6 separate regions of the Homo sapiens genome follow, and regions 2, 3, 4, 5 and 6 are each linked to region 1. The links are contacts of gene promoters, found by promoter capture Hi-C in blood cells and fetal thymus (Javierre and others, 2016). All regions are on one chromosome and are shown on one strand. The core of a region is centred on a gene start or on the middle of the fragment in contact, and the rest is flanking DNA. Distances in the headings are between cores, read along the strand shown.

Region 1 (2,757 bases), core at 1-2,500:
CGTAGGAATCTTTCTGACCCATACCGACCATGACGCCCTGCAGAGCCGAGACACCACGCACCCGTTAACGCCGCTCCGGGTGGCACCAGGCTGGCTTACGCGGGGACCCCGAGCCGGCTCCCTCTGCGGAGGGGCAGCCTGACCTGGTGTCGGGGGCGGCCCACGATGGACGGGAACACGGCCCTAGGGGCGTCATCCCCGGCGAAGCCGGCTTTCACCAGGCCGGAGCCATTGTCGCACACGAGGGCGGTGGTCTCGTCTTCGTCGCACATTGTGTCTAGTTTCTGCAAGGACAGGGAGACCGCGAAGAGGCGCGGTGCATCAGCGCAGAAGTCTCAGCGGCAGGGGGGGGTAAGCCTGGCTGGCCCCGACGTCCTCCCTCCCCAGGAACCTAGGGACATCTCCTGCCGGAGCCACTCAAATTCTGCCAGGGCGGCGACCAGGGGTTCTCTTCTCGACCTTTGCCCCGGCTAAGGGCTGCCCTGAACCAGGAAAAGGGGCACAGGGTCGCGAGACCCCACTGAGAAGTCCTCTGTCCACATAGCCAGGGGAACATGTTCCCCAAGACCTGTCTGCCCTCCCTGCCTGACACCTGTTCCAGGAGCTGGACGCTAGTGCCCATCCTCTCTGCGCCTCCCTGACCACATCTGTCACCTAGGGAGATAAGGCCTCAGCACTGCCTGCTTGCTGGGCCAGCGTGAGGGTGGAAGGAGATGCCCATGGGAAAGGCGTTGGCACCCCATCCAGGGAAGAGTGGCCTGTTAGGAACCCTGTGACATTTCAAACTCAGAAAGGGCCTTTTCGCCTGTTGGAAACCCAGAATGGGTGGTCCTGGCTGCTCGCTCATTCGCTCTAGCGCTAGTTTGGAAGGGAACTGCCTTGGCGACAACTAAAGCAAAACCGTTTATCTCCCTAGGCACATCCTACATGCCAGGTAAAGGAGCCCAAAGGGGCTAGAGAAAAATTTGGAGAAGTCTAATTTCCAGAGGCTGACTGTCTTGCCTCCTTTTTAAAGCGCGTGTGGCTCCGGAGACGAGGCACAGCGCTCAGGGCGCAGGCCTGGGGCTGACCAGGTGAACCGACTGGGTTCTGCCCCGGAGTCCTTCAGGTTCCCCTCGGTAGTGCCCTGTCCCCCTGTCCCCTCCCAACTCCTGCCCTACCTGGGCGGGTAGCTACAACTGCTACTCTCGGCTCGGGCCCTGGTCGCCGCGGAGGGGAAGCGAGGCTTCACTTGGCGCTGTCCGCTGCGGTGGCCGCTTGTCCCTCTGCTCAGGTTTTATATAGCCCGCGGGCATTCCCTCCGCGCCACCCCGCAGGAATGTCGCTGCCCTTCTCGAGCCATATTTGGGTGTTGGGCACTAGAGCCCCCTCCCTCGGCCGGTTCGCGGCCTGGGCCCCCGCCCGGGTCCCCTGCGTTGACCAAAGAAGGAGCGGGTTGGCCCGGTCCCAGGTAACGCGGGCCGGGCCGTATATGGAGTGTCTCCCTAGCGGGTTTGCCCCTCCTGACCCGACCCAGTTGCCCGCCGGAGGGGATGGGGTGGGGCGAGGGTCACCGCGTTCGCCGGTGGGTGCATGTGTGCGCCTGCGCTCCGGGAACCGCACCTGTCCCAAAGGCCTCCCCAACCATGTCCACTCTGAGCGCCCTGGGCGCTCGGGAAGGTGCCTGACTGCTGACTTCCAATATTTCAACTCCTCTTCGGGTTCTTTGCTCAGATCCCCAAACTCCCACTTGCGACTACCGGGAAGAGGGAGTCGTGTGGAGTGGTGGGCTTGGGAGGATTGGAGAAGCAGTCACTCCTGAGTCTCAGGAAGGGAAGGAAGGCGAACTCCCTCTCCTTTACGCCCCTGGAACTCCATTTCTCTCTTCCCACCCCCGAGCTCCCTGAATCCAAAAAGCTGAGCCACGTCGACCCCTTCCCCCACCGCACAGAGGGCCACCGGCGGCCGGAGGGCGCGCAGCTGTCGCAGGATAGACAACTGGCGGGGGGAGGCGAGGGCGGAGCGCCGGGGAGGAGGCGCGGGGGCTCCCGGGGATAGGCCTGTCAGGCGCAAAGCCTGAGCACACGGAGCTGTCCGCCTCAGGGACGCGCAGCGCCCTTGGGTCTCCTAAAGGGATTGAAGGGGTGAGGGTTCCCCTCCTGTAGGACGCACTGGCCCCAGGTTTTGGTGGGCTGAGGCCCTCCCCCAGCCTCTTTGGTGGCACTATGTGTGTCCCTCTCCTGGGGCTGAAAGACAAGGGTCACAACCCAGGACTGGCTAGACCTGGAGTGGAGGTGGAGATGGGTGAGGGGCTCTTCCTAGATGAGGCTTAGCTGGTCCTTCCTCCCAATAAATTGGAGGGGGTGGGGGGACAAGGACGCGGCACTCTAGGATGGGTGGCAGTTTTTCCTTCTGCAAAGGCTGAACAAACTCATCTTTATATTTAGAGGATGATGCCTGCCAAGGCCGGGCTGCCTCCCAGTCCACCTTGTAGTCATCATTTACCAGAGCCTGCTGCAGGTTCTATTTATATCACTGATATATGGGGCTATGCCTTTCAGATTTTCTAGAAGGATTTGGAGCTACTTATGGTAAAGTAGAGTGGGGGTCAGCAGAGGTTACCCAGTTGGTGCCTGTCCCTCTCTCTCTCTCTCTCTCTCTCTCTCTCTCTCTCTCTCTCTCTCTCTCTCCTTTTTCCCTAAGACAAGGACAGTTCTAACCTTGTGGAGGGCACAGGAGGAGCAGTCTTCTGTGATGAACTCAGGGACATGCTTTAAG
Region 2 (2,757 bases), core at 193-2,692, 770 kb before region 1:
AGTTGAATAGTCTGGACAGAGACCTTGTGTGGTGTTCTCATTATTTCCCCTTGCTTTAGACACATCACAAACCACAGTGAGGCAACTAGCACACTACAGTGTTTCAAGTGCTATACTTTTTGCCATGCTATGACTTTTCATTTATTTATTTTATCACACTGTAACTGTAACAAGAGAATACAATGTGTGTGCAAATTACCAGACTAGGCACTTATCACAATATTCTCAACTCATAGGAAAGCAATAATAAGGAAAATCGGAAAAGTTAAGCATATTCTTACTATTGAGTTTAAGAAGAAAAAAGAAAAGTTAAAAAAAATTAAGCAGCAATATCTCAACACATAGCTGACATTATTTTTCTTTATTTTTATTTTTCTTTTCTGTTTTTCTTTTCTTTTCTTTTCTTTTCTTTTTTTTTTTTTTTTTTTTTTTTTGAGACGGAATTTCACTCTGTCCCCCAGGCTGGGGTGCAGTGGCATGATCTCAACTCACTGCAACCTCCGCCTCCCGAGATCAAGCGATTCTCCTGCCTCAGCCTCCCACGTAGCTGGGATTACGCGCGCGCGACACCATACCTGGCTAATTTTTGTATTTTTAGTAGAGACGGGGCTTCACCATGTTGGCCAGGCTGGTCCCGAACTCCTGACCTCAAGTGATCCACCCGCCTTGGCCTCTCAAAGTGCTGGGATTACAGGCGCGAGCCGCCACGCCCGGCCAACATAGCTGGATTTCTTTTTCTTCTCCCCTCCCCTCCCCTCCCCTTCCCTCCCCTCCCCTCCCCTCCCCTCCTCTCCCCTCTCCTTTTTTTCTCTTCCCTTCTCTTCTTTTCTTATCTTCTGTCGCCCAGGCTGGAGAGCAGTGGCACTATCACGGCTCACTGCAGTCTTGACCTCTCGGGCTCGCGTGATCTCCCACTTCAGCCTACCGAGTAGCTGGGACTACAGATGTGTGCCACCAGGCTCGGCTAATTTTTTGTAGTTTTTGTAGAGGCGAGGTTTCTCCATATTTCCCAGGCTGGTCTCGAACTCCTGGGCATCGGCCCTCCTCGGCCTCCCAAAGTGTTGGGATTACAGGTGTGAGCCGCTGCGCTCGGCCTGGATTTCTTCATAAAGATAAAATTGGAAATAAAATTGCAGCCCAAGTAAGCTTCCAAGTGGCTCATTTGTTCCTCAAATGAGGAAAGCCATTTGCGGATAGCGAATCAACAAATCATGTTTGTACTCATTTTCTCAGAAACGTATTCTGAGAAAATAATCTTTATGAAGAATGTTAACCTTTTTGCTAGGTGGGGTGGGACTTTGGGAAAAAACCCAACAGTTTATTAAAACAAACAAAGCAAGAAACCAAATTGTCCGGCAGAGGGCAGCATTACCCCACAGAGCCAAAACCTTTGCCAGGAGGAACCCGTGTTCATTGCCAAGATTGATTGATTTTGAGACAGAGGTTTGTCCTTGTTGCCCAGGCTGGAGTGCAATGGCGCAATCTCAGCTCATTGCAACCTCCGTCTCCCAGGTTCAAGCAATTCTTCTGCTTCAGCCTCCCGAGTAGCTGGGTTTACAGGCGCCTGCCACCATGACCGGCTAATTTTTTGTATTTTGGTAGAGATGGGGTTTCACCATGTTGGCCATTTTGGTCTCGAAATCCTGACCTCAGGTGATCCACCGACCTCAGGTGATCCATCCGCCTCGGCCTCCCAAAGTGCTGGGATTACAGGTGTGAGCCACCGTGCCCGGCTTGCCAAGCTTTATTAACTAACATTTGTGGTGCCAGGCTGTTATGGTGATTTCTTCCTATTAGCTTATTTAATCTTCATGAAAACCCTTCAAGATAGGTACTATTTTATTTTCATTTTACAAATAAGAAAACTGAAACTCAGAATGGCTAAGTGACTTTTACCTGGTTCACATATCAATTAAGGTCAAGCCTTTGGCTCCAGGACCTATGTTTTTATTGAAGTAAATGATTATAAAGTGCCTGCTATGCACTAGGCATGGTCTAAGCACTTCACATGCTTTAATTACTTTAATCTTTATGATAACCCCAAGATTTAGGTACTATTATTACCATTTCCATTGTACCGATAAAGAAACCAAGATAAAGAGGTGAAGGTGATCCTACCTTCCCAAGGGAACTCCCACTGTCAGGCTTGAGTCCACAGGAGAGGCTCTAGCTGCTCTACGTGGCAGCACTAGGGTGAAGGCAGTGAGGCTCCTACTGCTCTGGTTCTGGCTGGGTCACACATGTCGGGGATGGGTTGCCAGCTCCCTCAATAAACCCCTACCTAGTCTTCTGAGTGACTCAAATCAGGTATCTTTGGTAGAGTGGAGTGGGGAACAGTAATATATCTTTGAGTGGAGTGGGGACAGTAATATATCTTTGAGTAGAGTGGGATGGGGAACACTAATATGAGTCCCAGAGTCCCAGGATTGAGAACCTGCAGTTCTGATGTCAGAGAGCAGAAGTTGGATGTCCTAGCTCCAGAATAAAGAGCAAATTTGTCCTTCCCCTGTCTTTTTGTTCTGTTGAGACCTTCAAGGAATTGGAAGAATAATGCCTATCCACATTGGTGAGGACAGATCATTTTGACTCAGTCTAGTGGTTCAAATAGTAATACCTTCTACCCTGGGAGAAAGCAGTCCCTCCAGGGTCAGCAAGGCCCCAAGATGTCAAAGCATCAAAAATACAGAATAAAAAGGTCATAATTAACACAAGATGGACAAAAGCCTTCTTCACCCCAGCATCTAGAAGTGTTCTTTT
Region 3 (2,757 bases), core at 111-2,610, 750 kb before region 1:
TTGCTCTGTCGCCCAGGCTGGAGTGCAGTGGCATGATCTCGGCTCACTGCAACCTCCAGCTCCCAGGTTCAAGCAATTCTCCTGCCTCAGCCTCCTGATAGCTGGGATTACAGGTGTGTGCCACCATGATGGTCTAATTTTTGTATTTTTAGTAGCGATAGGGTTTCACCCTGATGGCCAGGCTGGTCTTGAACTGCTGACCTCAGGTGATCCTCCCGCCTCAGCCTCCCACTGTGCTGAGATTACCCATGTGAGCCACTGCGCCTGGCCAGTTTGTTTTTTGAGACTAGGTCTCATGTGTCATCCAGGCTGGAGTGCAGTGGCAAGATCTGGCACATTGCAACCTCCACCTCCTGGGCTAAAGTGATCCTTCCACCGCAGCCCCCTGAGTAGCTGGGACTACAGGCGTGCACCACCATGCCCGGCTAATTTTTGTATTTTTTGTAGAAATGGTGTTTTGCCATGTTGGCCAGGCTAGTTTTGAACTCCTGGGCTCAAGTGATCCACGTGTCTCGGCCTAAGTATTGGGATTACAGGCGTGATCTACTGTGCCCTGCTGACATAACTGTTAATATTAGTCCTTTTCACTCTCAGAATCGTTCCTGTTTGGGTGCTAGATTTTGCAGCCACCCCCATAAGGCAGGAAAAAACATGCAGGCTCTGGTAATAGAGTAGTTGTGAGGGTGAGGGAGAAGGAACCACAAGGATGACTTCCAGTTTCTGGCTTGCAGACCAAAAGGGAACGTGGTGCTGTTCCAGGAAACGGTCCCGATAATAGCTCAGACCCTAAGAGAGTGTTCTTGATCTTGTGTAAGAAAGAATTCAGGACGAGTTTGTAAAGTGAAAGCAAGTTTACTAGGAAAGTGGAGGAATAAAAGAACGGCTACTCCATAGACAGAGCAGACCAGCTACTCCGAGAGCTGCTGGTTGCCTATTTCTATGGTTATTTTTTGATGATATTCTAAACAACGGGTGCATTATTTATGTCTCCCATTTTTAGGCTATATAGGGTAACTTCCTGACATTGCCATGACATTTGTAAACTGCCATGGTGCTGGTAGGAGCGTAGCAGTGAGGATGACCAGAGGTCACTCTCATTGCCATCTTGGTATTGGTGGGTTTTGGCTGGCTTCTTTACTGCAGTCTGTTCTGTCAGCAAGGTCTTTATGACCTGTATCTTGTGCTGACTTCTTATCTCATCCTGTGACTTAGAATGCCTTAAGTGTCTGGGAATGCAGCCCAGTAGGCCTCAGCCTTATTTTACCCAGCCTCTATTAAGATGGAGTTGCTCTGGTTCCAATGCCTCTGACAGTAGGAATTTGGGAATGAGTTTTAACAAATACTTGGAAACTGAAACTCAGAGTGAGAGACTAGAAAGAGAGCAAATGCTGTAAAGAGAAATGACCACAAAGGGAAATTAGGAGAAACAAAACTGGAACCAAATGGAGCACCATTCTCTGGATGGTTGATTCTGTGAAAAATTAAAATGGAAATCTATTGAGCATTTGGAGCCAGAGAATGATAGGATACTGCTCTGAGAATTTACTGGGGAATTTGAGAGTTTTAGAAGATAACTAAAGTATTCAGAGACTCATGAAATGACTGTATGTGAATATATATCTTCCTGTTAAAATTATATATAGGTTAAATGTATTTCTGTTAATCAAAATTAATCTTCTCATTGACTTACATTCTAATTGAAAAACCTCTTTGTTCTCCTTTAGTGAAACCCTTAATCAGTAGCATTTGACACTCAGAACTTTTTTGTCTACCGACTCCTTTCTCTTCAAGAGTTAATCTAGTGCAACCCTTAATTATCCCCAGAGCTATTATTAAAAGAATCTGTAAATGGAAGCATTTTTAAAGCCAAGAATCTTAGTAATTTTATTCTGATCAGAGTTTATAAGATCAGAGTTTTACACTTTGACATCTTATTATATGAAGATGAAATAAAACCATTAAGAGGAAACACAATGTAAGTTAGTGATCAGACTTTTGTATTAGTCCATTGACCCCAAAATCTGACTTGCTTATAGGGTTGTGTTATATTTGAGTTTTAGTTATAATTTTGCTACTTATTAGATTTAGAGGAATTAGTTAAATCTCCCTTATCTTCAACTTCTTCATGAATAAAATAAAAATAACTAACTCATGAGGTTTCTATGATATTTAAATGAAACAATAGCTATATAGTGATTAGTACTTTGTAGTTACTCAATGTGTTTTATTAACTAATATTATTATAATAAAGAGTTTCTGTTTGAGGAGATGAAATATTTTGGAAATAGTGGTGATAGTTGTACAACATTATGAATATAATTAATGCCATTGAATTGTATGCTTAAAATTTCTAAAATGGCAATAAAACAATAAAAATATATAAAATACAATAATTACATATTTGCAGTTTAAAACCTATTATGTTTGACAATATATTTCTGAATTTCAGTTTCAGAAATCTAGAGGAATACTCTCCTACACCATGAGACAACTGATATTTAGTGCAAGCCATGGTGAGCACTTGCCCTCTTTTAGTATTGGGTCGGTGCAAAACTCATTGCGGTTTTTGCTATGAAAAGCAATGGCTTTTTAAAGGTCTGGTCTGGCAACAGAGTCAGCTCTTAAAATGTTAAATTCCTAACTTTTAAAGCCTTGATAATCCCAACCAAAAAGCAAGGGAGAATTTTTTTTTGAGAGGGAGTCTTCCTCTGTCTCTCAGGCTGGAGTGCAGTGGCGTGATCTTGGCTCACTGCAACC
Region 4 (2,757 bases), core at 184-2,683, 730 kb before region 1:
TAGTGATAATTAAAAGGTTTTAAAAAGCAAAAACTTTTACTCTTTGATTAGAGGAGACCCAGTCTTCCCAAAGATTAAAATATCTAATAAAGACAGCATTAGACAGAATCTATCTCTCCTTTTCTCCTCTTGCTGTCTCATTTTTTTTGAGATGTCTCTAAAAGTGAACAAAAATTTTTTATTATCTCTTATTATTACTTTACAAAAATCTTGTTTAAAAGAGAAAACCAAAGTTTGCTTTTGTATTAATGAATTATCAATATTAAAGCTGATTTTAATAAAACCTTATAAACAAACTAATCTCAGTCAGCTTTTGACCATGCAGATTTCATAAATGTTTTATAATCTCTTACAAAATTTTAAAAATTCTTTTTCTTCCTGACTTTTAATATTATTTAGTTTTATTTATATCTTTTAAAATTCTTTTATCGTAAAATAATATTTAAGTAACTTCTAAACTGGACAAAGTAATTTTTTCTCAACAGCTATGTATTTGTATTCTTTTACAGCTTTTTTTTAATCAAAGCATGTCTTTTTTGTTAGTACACTTTGTATATAGAATTCTCTTATATATGTAGTTTTAATTACATATGTTAACTATAATTTTAACTCTTAGTCACCCTAATTTTCAGTAAAAGTCTAAAAAGTAATTCTGAACTGTTTTATATCAGTATTTATAGATGAAAACCATTTTATAATTTTTACAAAGATATGTTTGCTCAAATTTTTGTTCATTAACAGATCTACATATATTTAGCTTTTTTATATCACAGAAAAATAAGATGCCAAATTATATAAACTTAAATTTATGTTTAATAATTAATGTTTTAGTATTTTAACATACTTGTAAAAAAACTCAGACATTTTATGATTATCTGGTACTTAATTTAAAATAATATGACTTTAAGATTTAAATTACTGAAAAGAATATTAATACTATGATACAAGTACCCTTTCTAATGTTTTTCCCAGTCATCCTGGGTCTCAAGTAGCCACATGACACCTAGGATGGCTATAAGGGGAGGTCCCATCTGGGTCCTAAATTTACATACTAGGTATAGAATTCAGGACAGAAGACAGCTATGAAGATGATGACTGGAGCATTCAGCCCTTCACAGAATGGCCAGGAGGCAAAGCTGGGCCAGGGAGAAAGGGGTCATTTTGAGCTTGACTGTGCCCTGTAGGTGGTGATATAGACACTGAGGACATGTCCCCATATGTTACCAAGGTCACCTGTCTGGACCCCAGAATCCAGAGGCTCGGAAAACAAAAACATAAGCTCACAGTCAAATCAAGCAAATATCAAAAACATAACAGAAGCAGAAGTTTTATGACCTTAAAGCTTGAAGCAGAGATAGCATAAACCTGTCTGACCAGTAGACTCAGGCATAAATATCTATATTATCTTTAAGTGACAATTCTGAAGTCATTTTTTTATTTTATTTTACCAACAATTTAAAAACTAGCTTTCTTCACCAAATAGTATCACATACACATATAGACATATAGACACAAGCAGGTCTTAAAGCTTCCATGAAGAATTCTCATTTGTCAGCTTTCAAATAGTTTTTCTTTTCCCCATTCATACTATCAGTCTTAGAACTATCTGTTTTATTGCTCTAAGTAGTTGTTAGCTACTCCACAATCTGCCTCCTAAAGGGATGACTCTTAGGTGAAACAAGGTAGAAAATTCTCAAAAGCACAGAGCTGAGATTTTAGGCCTAAATATTGTACTATCAGTTGCTCAAACCAAGGGAAAAGATTGTACATAAAGATCCGGTTAAGGCAGCATGGCCTGGAAAAGCACCTTAAACAAAGGCAAGACAATGTATGTACATTTAAAACAACAGTAAGAGTTTCTAGTGACCCAGTCCTCCCTCTCAGACACCCTTTCAAATGGAAATTTCTTTTAGAGATATAAATTTCTCCTATAAAAGTGTTTTGGGGCCAGGCGCGGCGTCTCACATCTGTAATCCCAGCACTTTGGGAGGCCGAGGCGCGCGGATCATGAGGTCAGGAGATCGAGACCATCCTGGCTAACATGGTGAAACCCCGTCTCTACTAAAAATAGAAAAAATTAGCCAGGTGTGGTGGTGGGCACCTGTAGTCCCAGCTACTCGGGAGGCTGAGGCAGGAGAATGGCGTGAACCCGGGAGGTGATGGTTGCAGTGAGCTGAGATCGCGCCACTGCACTCCAGACTGGGCAACAGAGTGAGACTCCATCTCTGAAAAAAAAAAAGTGTTTTAAGATAGCCAGCTAAATGCCAGAAAAGTATATTTTAGAGACTGTTTTAGTTTAATAGGTGGTCTTCTTAACTTAGCTACTTTTTCTTAGCTAAAACTACTGAGTTCAGGATGGAGCTCATTAAGAAACACAGCAATTAAAGCATTCTCTATACCTGGACTTAGCATGGATAGCTTTGAAAAAGAATCAAGGCCATTTAATCTGAGGGCCTACTTTTTATAAACACTGTATCCAGGATAGCTTTCTTTTTGCCTTTGGTTGGGATATGTGTAAGGAAAATAAATCTTAGGACCCCAAATCACTGAGCCAAGGGAAAAGTCAAGCTGGGACCTATGTCAGGCACCCTGCCTCCCATTTCATTCCTAAATAAGATAGCTACAAAGATAAAAAGTGACATACCTCCCTCACAATTTGCCCACAAGGAAATTCTTGGTGGACAACGGAAAGATAGAACTCCAAGTCTCCTTCTGAGGCTCACCTTAGACAAATGCATATCTGATTGCTTCCTCTGC
Region 5 (2,757 bases), core at 167-2,666, 720 kb before region 1:
AATACTGTTACTGAGTTATGCCGGAGGCATGCTCTCTGACATCTTGATGTAGGAAAAAGTTGAGAGTCAGCTTTAGTGGAATGATCTTACCATAAACAGATATTTTATTGGTGGCCAGTCATTTCAGTTAATGAGAGTGGCGCCCTACTTCCTTCTCAACCTAATCCAGTTATGTGTTTCTGGACACAGGAACTGTTCCATGGACAGCTCCCATGAATCCAGCCAGTCATTTAAAAAGTTAATTCAAGATCAGAAGAACTGGACACAATAAAAAATTCGGGTAATTCCATGCCCTCCATTAACACATTGGACCAGCAGGGTAGTGTCATGTCTGAATATAAAGGATAGGACATATGTATCAATCATTTCATCTGGGCTGACCTCCTTTGAGAACATTATGTCTGTTCTTATTCTACATAGTAAAGATAGATAACTCAGTATTTAAAAATAGGATTCCAAAAGACCATTTCCTTGGGGACACTTAAATTAGAGATCATAATGAGAACCTGGGGAGGTGACAGGAAGTGGTGATACCCTGAGTTCCCCTACGTCCTCCAAAAAAGATGCATCCATTGCTTTCCAGTGAATGGGCTTAGGAGAAAGAACAGCTTTGAAATAGGGAGAATCAAGAAGTTTGCTTGTAGCCATGCTGGGAAGATGGTAGGATGATGCAAATAAGTTTTAAGGACAGATGGAATCTACAATTAAGGTTTGGACAGCTTGGGAAGTATATTAGTTATCTATTGCCACCTAAAAAATTAGCCCAGAATATAATGGCTGAAAACAACAAGTTTATGTGAGTTAGGAATTGGGGAGCAGTTTAATTGGGTGGTTCTGACTCATGAGACTCATGAATTCCAGGAGGCAGGATTATTGGGGCTGTCTTAGATATGCCCTTTGCCAGTCTAGAAGAGTGTAGAAAAAGCTGAGCTTCAGTAAGCATCAAAACTGCCTTTATCAACAGGATAAAGAAATGGGTTGAAACAAGTATTAGACAAGTAGAGGCCCAGAGTCTTAGGGAACTTTCTGAAAGGAGGGAAGCATATGCAGAATAAGTACAAGGTGGTTTAAAGCTCAGATGCAGACTATGTGAGAGAACTTAGAAAACTGTCTTTCTCATCCAGAAGCCTAGAGTCTAAGGTGTGAACCAGGAGGACCAGGTTGGTTGTAGACTGCTATAAACACTTCCGCCAGAACATGAACTGGGAATGTCCACTGCGGGTGACCCTGGATGCTCACTGCAGGAGGGAGTGCATCTCTTACTAGGCAGGGAAGCAGGTTTTGAGAGGGAGTGAACTAAATCTGGTGTCAGCACCAACTCAAATCAGCCAGTTGAGAGATCAAAAGGAAGTATGGCTTTAAAACAGAATATATCGTCTAAAAGGTTTGAAATTTAATTTTAGAAAGCCCTTTAATGGCATCTATTCTACAGCACCTATGTTGGAGGGGGTATATGAGAGTAGAAGGAGGAGGAGTGGAGTATCCTGATGGCTTCACCAGCCATGTCAATATTTGGTTACAGTTCAGATCAAGTGAGACTTAGAAAAACATCCTTCTATATTCCTGTATCATTTTGCTTTCCTATCTATCCATTGGTTGATCAATCCATGTATTCATCAATCCATGCATTCATCCAATGTTTATTGATCATTTACTTTGTGCCTTGATTCTCTAAAGAAACAATAAAAACTGTTGGATTTTCAATTTATAAAATCGTGTGTTTTCCAAAAGTCATTAGCACACTATTCTGTTTCTGGAGTATATTATCACACTAATCAAGGAAAAGGGAACTAATATTTACTGAGGCTCAAAATCACACAATTAATAATTGGGCTGGGTGTGGTGGCTCACGCCTGTAGTCCCCGCACTTTGGAAAGCTGAGGTTGGTGAATCACTTGAGGTCTGGAGTTCGAGACCAGCCTGGCCAACATGGTGAAACCCCACCTCTACTAAAAATATAAAAATTAGCCGGGCATGGTGGTGCACACTTGTAATCCCAGCTACTTGGGAGGCTAAGGAGGGAGGATCACTTGAACCCTGGGGGTGGAGTTTGCAGTGAGCTGGGATCACACCACTGCACTCCAGCCCGGGCGACAGAACATGACTCTGTCTTAAAACAAAACAAAAAACATACAAGCAAACAACAACAACAAAAAAAATGATAAAACTGCAACTGAATTCAGGTTGGCCAGTCCTTTTGATTTACCTTTAAATAATTTATCTTTTCTTAATTCAGTAGCTTTCTCTCCTGACCTGCACTGGTTATTACTTCTTTTGAGAATACTATCATTGCTCCCAAGCAGACCTAAAATAATCCAAGAAAATTACATTAAAATATCGCCGTATCTTTTAAAAAAGTTAGACATAAGCACCCTTTTATGAACATTTATATTTGGTCTCACAGTATAATCATAAGAATTCCTATTAGAAGCCAGGCAAGGTGGCTCATGTCCATAATCCGAGCAACTTTGGAGGCTAAAGCAGGAGGATCACTTGAGGCCAGGAGTTTGATACCAGCCTGGGCAACATAGCGAGACCCCGTCTCTACAGAAAATTAAAAGAAAAAAAAGGACTCCTATTAGATTATGGGCACTTCAGCACAGTTTTTTGTGTGTGTACAAACAACAAACATTTTAAAACAACAGAAAATTGATTATCATGTAATTTTCCATACATAATACATACTATCATAGCATAAGCATAGAAGAAGTACAAGTAAGATTATCTACATGGTTATGAGCTGAAATTTGAATTCAT
Region 6 (2,757 bases), core at 147-2,646, 700 kb before region 1:
TTCTTTGGCTGATCCCCAAAATCTTCATGGCCTCTTCAAAGTCACTCAATATGAGGGTAAGTTACAGTTTAAAAAGACAGTGAACATAACTGGTGGTGATTAAAATACTTTTTTTTTTTTCAAAATTTACAGAAACATATTACCACGTGTACACATTGCTAGGTCTTCCAATGTGAAAGTGTCCTTTGCAAGTCAGGGGTCCTGGATTCAAGCTTCTAACTTCTTGATAAATCCATCTCTGCATTCTGACCATGGCCATACGTTCAAGATTACGTTTATCATACTGACTTATTTTTGCCTCCAGGATTTTGGTTAGAAGCTCAGGCTCTGGGGCTAGACTATTTGGGTTTGGATCCTGGCATTGCCACTTACTAGCTTGTGGAATCCCAAAACGTTACTTAATATCTCTGTGCCTCAGGTGTTCTCATCTGTAAGTAATGTTAAGATTAAAAGAATTAGTTCTTGAAGAGTGCTTACAACAGTATCTGACACATTATGAAAGTTCAGTATTTGTTATTGTTATTTTTACTACCACTAGTATCAATGTGTATTAATAATATGTGGCCCTTCTCACACCACGCTGTACACCCCCAGGACTCTTGGTATTCTGACTTGGCTAAGAGGCGTCCTTTTTCTGAATAGACTGTTGACCACATGTAGAAGGAAGGCAGAGAGAGAAATGAATCAAAGGGAAACGGAATATTTTTTCAGACATATTAATGTCTCCGAATTACCTTTAAGTAAATGAAGGAATTGGGGGTATAAAAAAATTTCTGGAGCATACATGTATAAAGGTTCACGGCATGCCGAAAGACAAAGTCAAAGGAGCATTCACAATGGAGCTGGCATCCTTTTGCTTCAAAATGAGAAAAAATCACACGATCAGCTGCAGTTAGACTTAAGGAAAAAAGCTGTCTGTTAATTCAATCTCATTCGCAGGACAGGCCTCCAGGACACTTCATTTTTCCCCCTGGGTGGAGCCGTGGCCAGCCGGGGGCTCCACGGAGTGAATAGGAGGCGGCTCAGGCTTCCTGGCTCGCGTGGGCGCCAGAAAGCGGAACCTCCCGGGCCAGTCGCGCGGTGGTCACCCTCTTGGGAGCTGGGGAGGAGGCTGCGGAGGCTGGCCCGGCTCCTTCGGGCGTCGCTTCCCGGACCGGGTGCGCGGGGTCCCCCGGAACGTGTGTTCCAGGTCCTCCCGCGCCAGTGTTCGCAGTCCCCGCCTGGTCGCGGCGGCGCCTCGGGCGCGGGTGCAGGCGCGCGGCGCGCAGGCGGGGGGCGCTGTGGTCTTGGCGCGGGGACCGAGCCGCTCGGCCAGACCCGCCTCTTTTCCCTCCCCGCCAGCCCGCCCGCCTGCCCGCCCCCCACGCGTCGTGTCGCCGGGAAGCCGGGCGGAGACAGAGCGCTTGGGATCCACGGCGCTCGGACCGCTGTCCTCCAACAGCGCAGGGCAGAGCGGCTGGCGCCGCCGGAGCGCGGAGCCACGACCCTCCCTGGCCGCCTTTGTCTACTGGCCGTGCGGCCCGGAACCGCCACTCTCCAGGGCCGGGGACGCGCCCGCAGCTGTCGGTGACAGCTCCTCCCTACCGCAACCCTCCGGGGCGGAGGGGCGGTCGGGCCGGGCCCTGCTAGCCCGCGACCGCAAGCCCGCGCTCGCGGATCGATGCCCCCGCAGCAGGGGGACCCCGCGTTCCCCGACCGCTGCGAGGCGCCTCCGGTGCCGCCGCGTCGGGAGCGCGGTGGACGCGGGGGACGCGGGCCTGGGGAGCCGGGGGGCCGGGGGCGTGCGGGGGGTGCCGAGGGGCGCGGCGTCAAGTGCGTGCTGGTCGGCGACGGCGCGGTGGGCAAGACGAGCCTGGTGGTGAGCTACACCACCAACGGCTACCCCACCGAGTACATCCCTACTGCCTTCGACAACTTCTCCGGTGAGCTGGCCGGGGGGCCGGGGCCGGGGGCGCGTGGCCGCGGTCCACCCAGGGGAAGGAAGGTGGCGCGAGGGTCGCGAGGTTCCCAAGGGGGCTGCAGGGCCCCGGGCGCGGCTCCAGCTGGGAAGCCGGACAAATGAGGAGTGCAGGACGTTTCCTGAGTCTCAGGGACCGGGCAAGCGCGGAGCTAACACGAAAGGACCACGGCGGAGTGGGCTTGGAGAGAGGAGGGCGGAGCGGCAGTCAGAGCCTTGCCAAAAAAAAAAAAAAAAAAAATCTCACAATTTAAGCAACAGATAAGTAGGAGTGAAACAGGTTGAGTTCAGGGTGCCCGGTCAGTTTGTTGCATAGAGCAAAGTTTCCTGAGGGCGACGTCGCTGGCGCCGCTGCAGAGTTTCAATCAGAAGGTGACGCGCAGGTGCCTTTACCTGAGCGTCGCTCCTTTGCTTTTAGGCGGCTCAGCTCACAAGGGGCGTCTCCGCTTTAAAGAGCCGCGGAGACGCCGGGAAAACACTTGATTTAGTGAAAAAGCGCGAGCGGCCCTCGTGAAGGCTTAGGTTTGGATGAAACCTGAAGAGTAAACACCATTTCTTTCTTCTGAGCCCCACCACCTTCCCTGCCCACATGGGCTCGGATTCTGATTGTTGGTATCTTTTCAGGATCCCTTTAAGCTACTTAAAGCTCCTATGTACCGGGTGCGATGCCATTTCCCTTGGTAGATACAAAGAGAAAGGAATTCTCTATCTTGCTATTCAGGTCTTTTTGAAATTTAAGAAAAAGTTAAAATTCACAGAAACTAGTATGAAACACTTAACTGTCTTGCTTCTTTAAAAAA

What was found. Contacts are between HindIII fragments. The CHiCAGO score rates a contact against its expected background, and 5 or more counts as called.
Region 2: a fragment that was not itself captured here is called in contact with the fragment with the promoter of ACTA1 in region 1 in 14 of 17 cell types (M2 macrophages, M0 macrophages, total CD8 T cells and 11 more); the score reaches 11.8 in M2 macrophages.
Region 3: a contact is called between a fragment that was not itself captured here and the fragment with the promoter of ACTA1 in region 1, in 1 of 17 cell types (total CD4 T cells). The highest score is 5.6, in total CD4 T cells.
Region 4: a contact is called between a fragment that was not itself captured here and the fragment with the promoter of ACTA1 in region 1, in 9 of 17 cell types (total CD8 T cells, naive CD4 T cells, naive CD8 T cells and 6 more). The highest score is 12.1, in total CD8 T cells.
Region 5: a contact is called between a fragment that was not itself captured here and the fragment with the promoter of ACTA1 in region 1, in 5 of 17 cell types (total CD8 T cells, non-activated CD4 T cells, total CD4 T cells and 2 more). The highest score is 6.4, in total CD8 T cells.
Region 6: a contact is called between the fragment with the promoter of RHOU here and the fragment with the promoter of ACTA1 in region 1, in 17 of 17 cell types (naive CD8 T cells, total CD4 T cells, non-activated CD4 T cells and 14 more). The highest score is 22.6, in naive CD8 T cells.

The regions. Positions count from the first base shown.
Region 1 is chr1:229,432,844-229,435,600 of GRCh38, forward strand. ACTA1 (actin alpha 1, skeletal muscle) reads right to left here and starts at 1,251. Exons shown (of 7, transcript NM_001100.4): 1 at 1,161-1,251; 2 at 144-284; 3 at 1-37. The coding sequence starts at 272. RefSeq lists a silencer at 959-1,253. The HindIII fragment of the contact is 9,477 bases long and covers 1-2,757 here.
Region 2 is chr1:228,663,217-228,665,973 of GRCh38, forward strand. It overlaps a transcript of RHOU not described here. Among named protein-coding and RNA genes, the nearest start is that of RHOU, 71 kb to the right of the region's middle. The HindIII fragment of the contact is 596 bases long and covers 1,145-1,740 here.
Region 3 is chr1:228,684,067-228,686,823 of GRCh38, forward strand. It overlaps a transcript of RHOU not described here. Among named protein-coding and RNA genes, the nearest start is that of RHOU, 50 kb to the right of the region's middle. The HindIII fragment of the contact is 9,589 bases long and covers 1-2,757 here.
Region 4 is chr1:228,701,300-228,704,056 of GRCh38, forward strand. It overlaps a transcript of RHOU not described here. Among named protein-coding and RNA genes, the nearest start is that of RHOU, 33 kb to the right of the region's middle. The HindIII fragment of the contact is 186 bases long and covers 1,341-1,526 here.
Region 5 is chr1:228,717,617-228,720,373 of GRCh38, forward strand. It overlaps a transcript of RHOU not described here. Among named protein-coding and RNA genes, the nearest start is that of RHOU, 16 kb to the right of the region's middle. The HindIII fragment of the contact is 4,933 bases long and covers 1-2,757 here.
Region 6 is chr1:228,734,083-228,736,839 of GRCh38, forward strand. It overlaps RHOU (ras homolog family member U), which reads left to right and starts at 1,397. Exons shown (of 3, transcript NM_021205.6): 1 at 1,397-1,922. The coding sequence starts at 1,661. The HindIII fragment of the contact is 4,915 bases long and covers 211-2,757 here.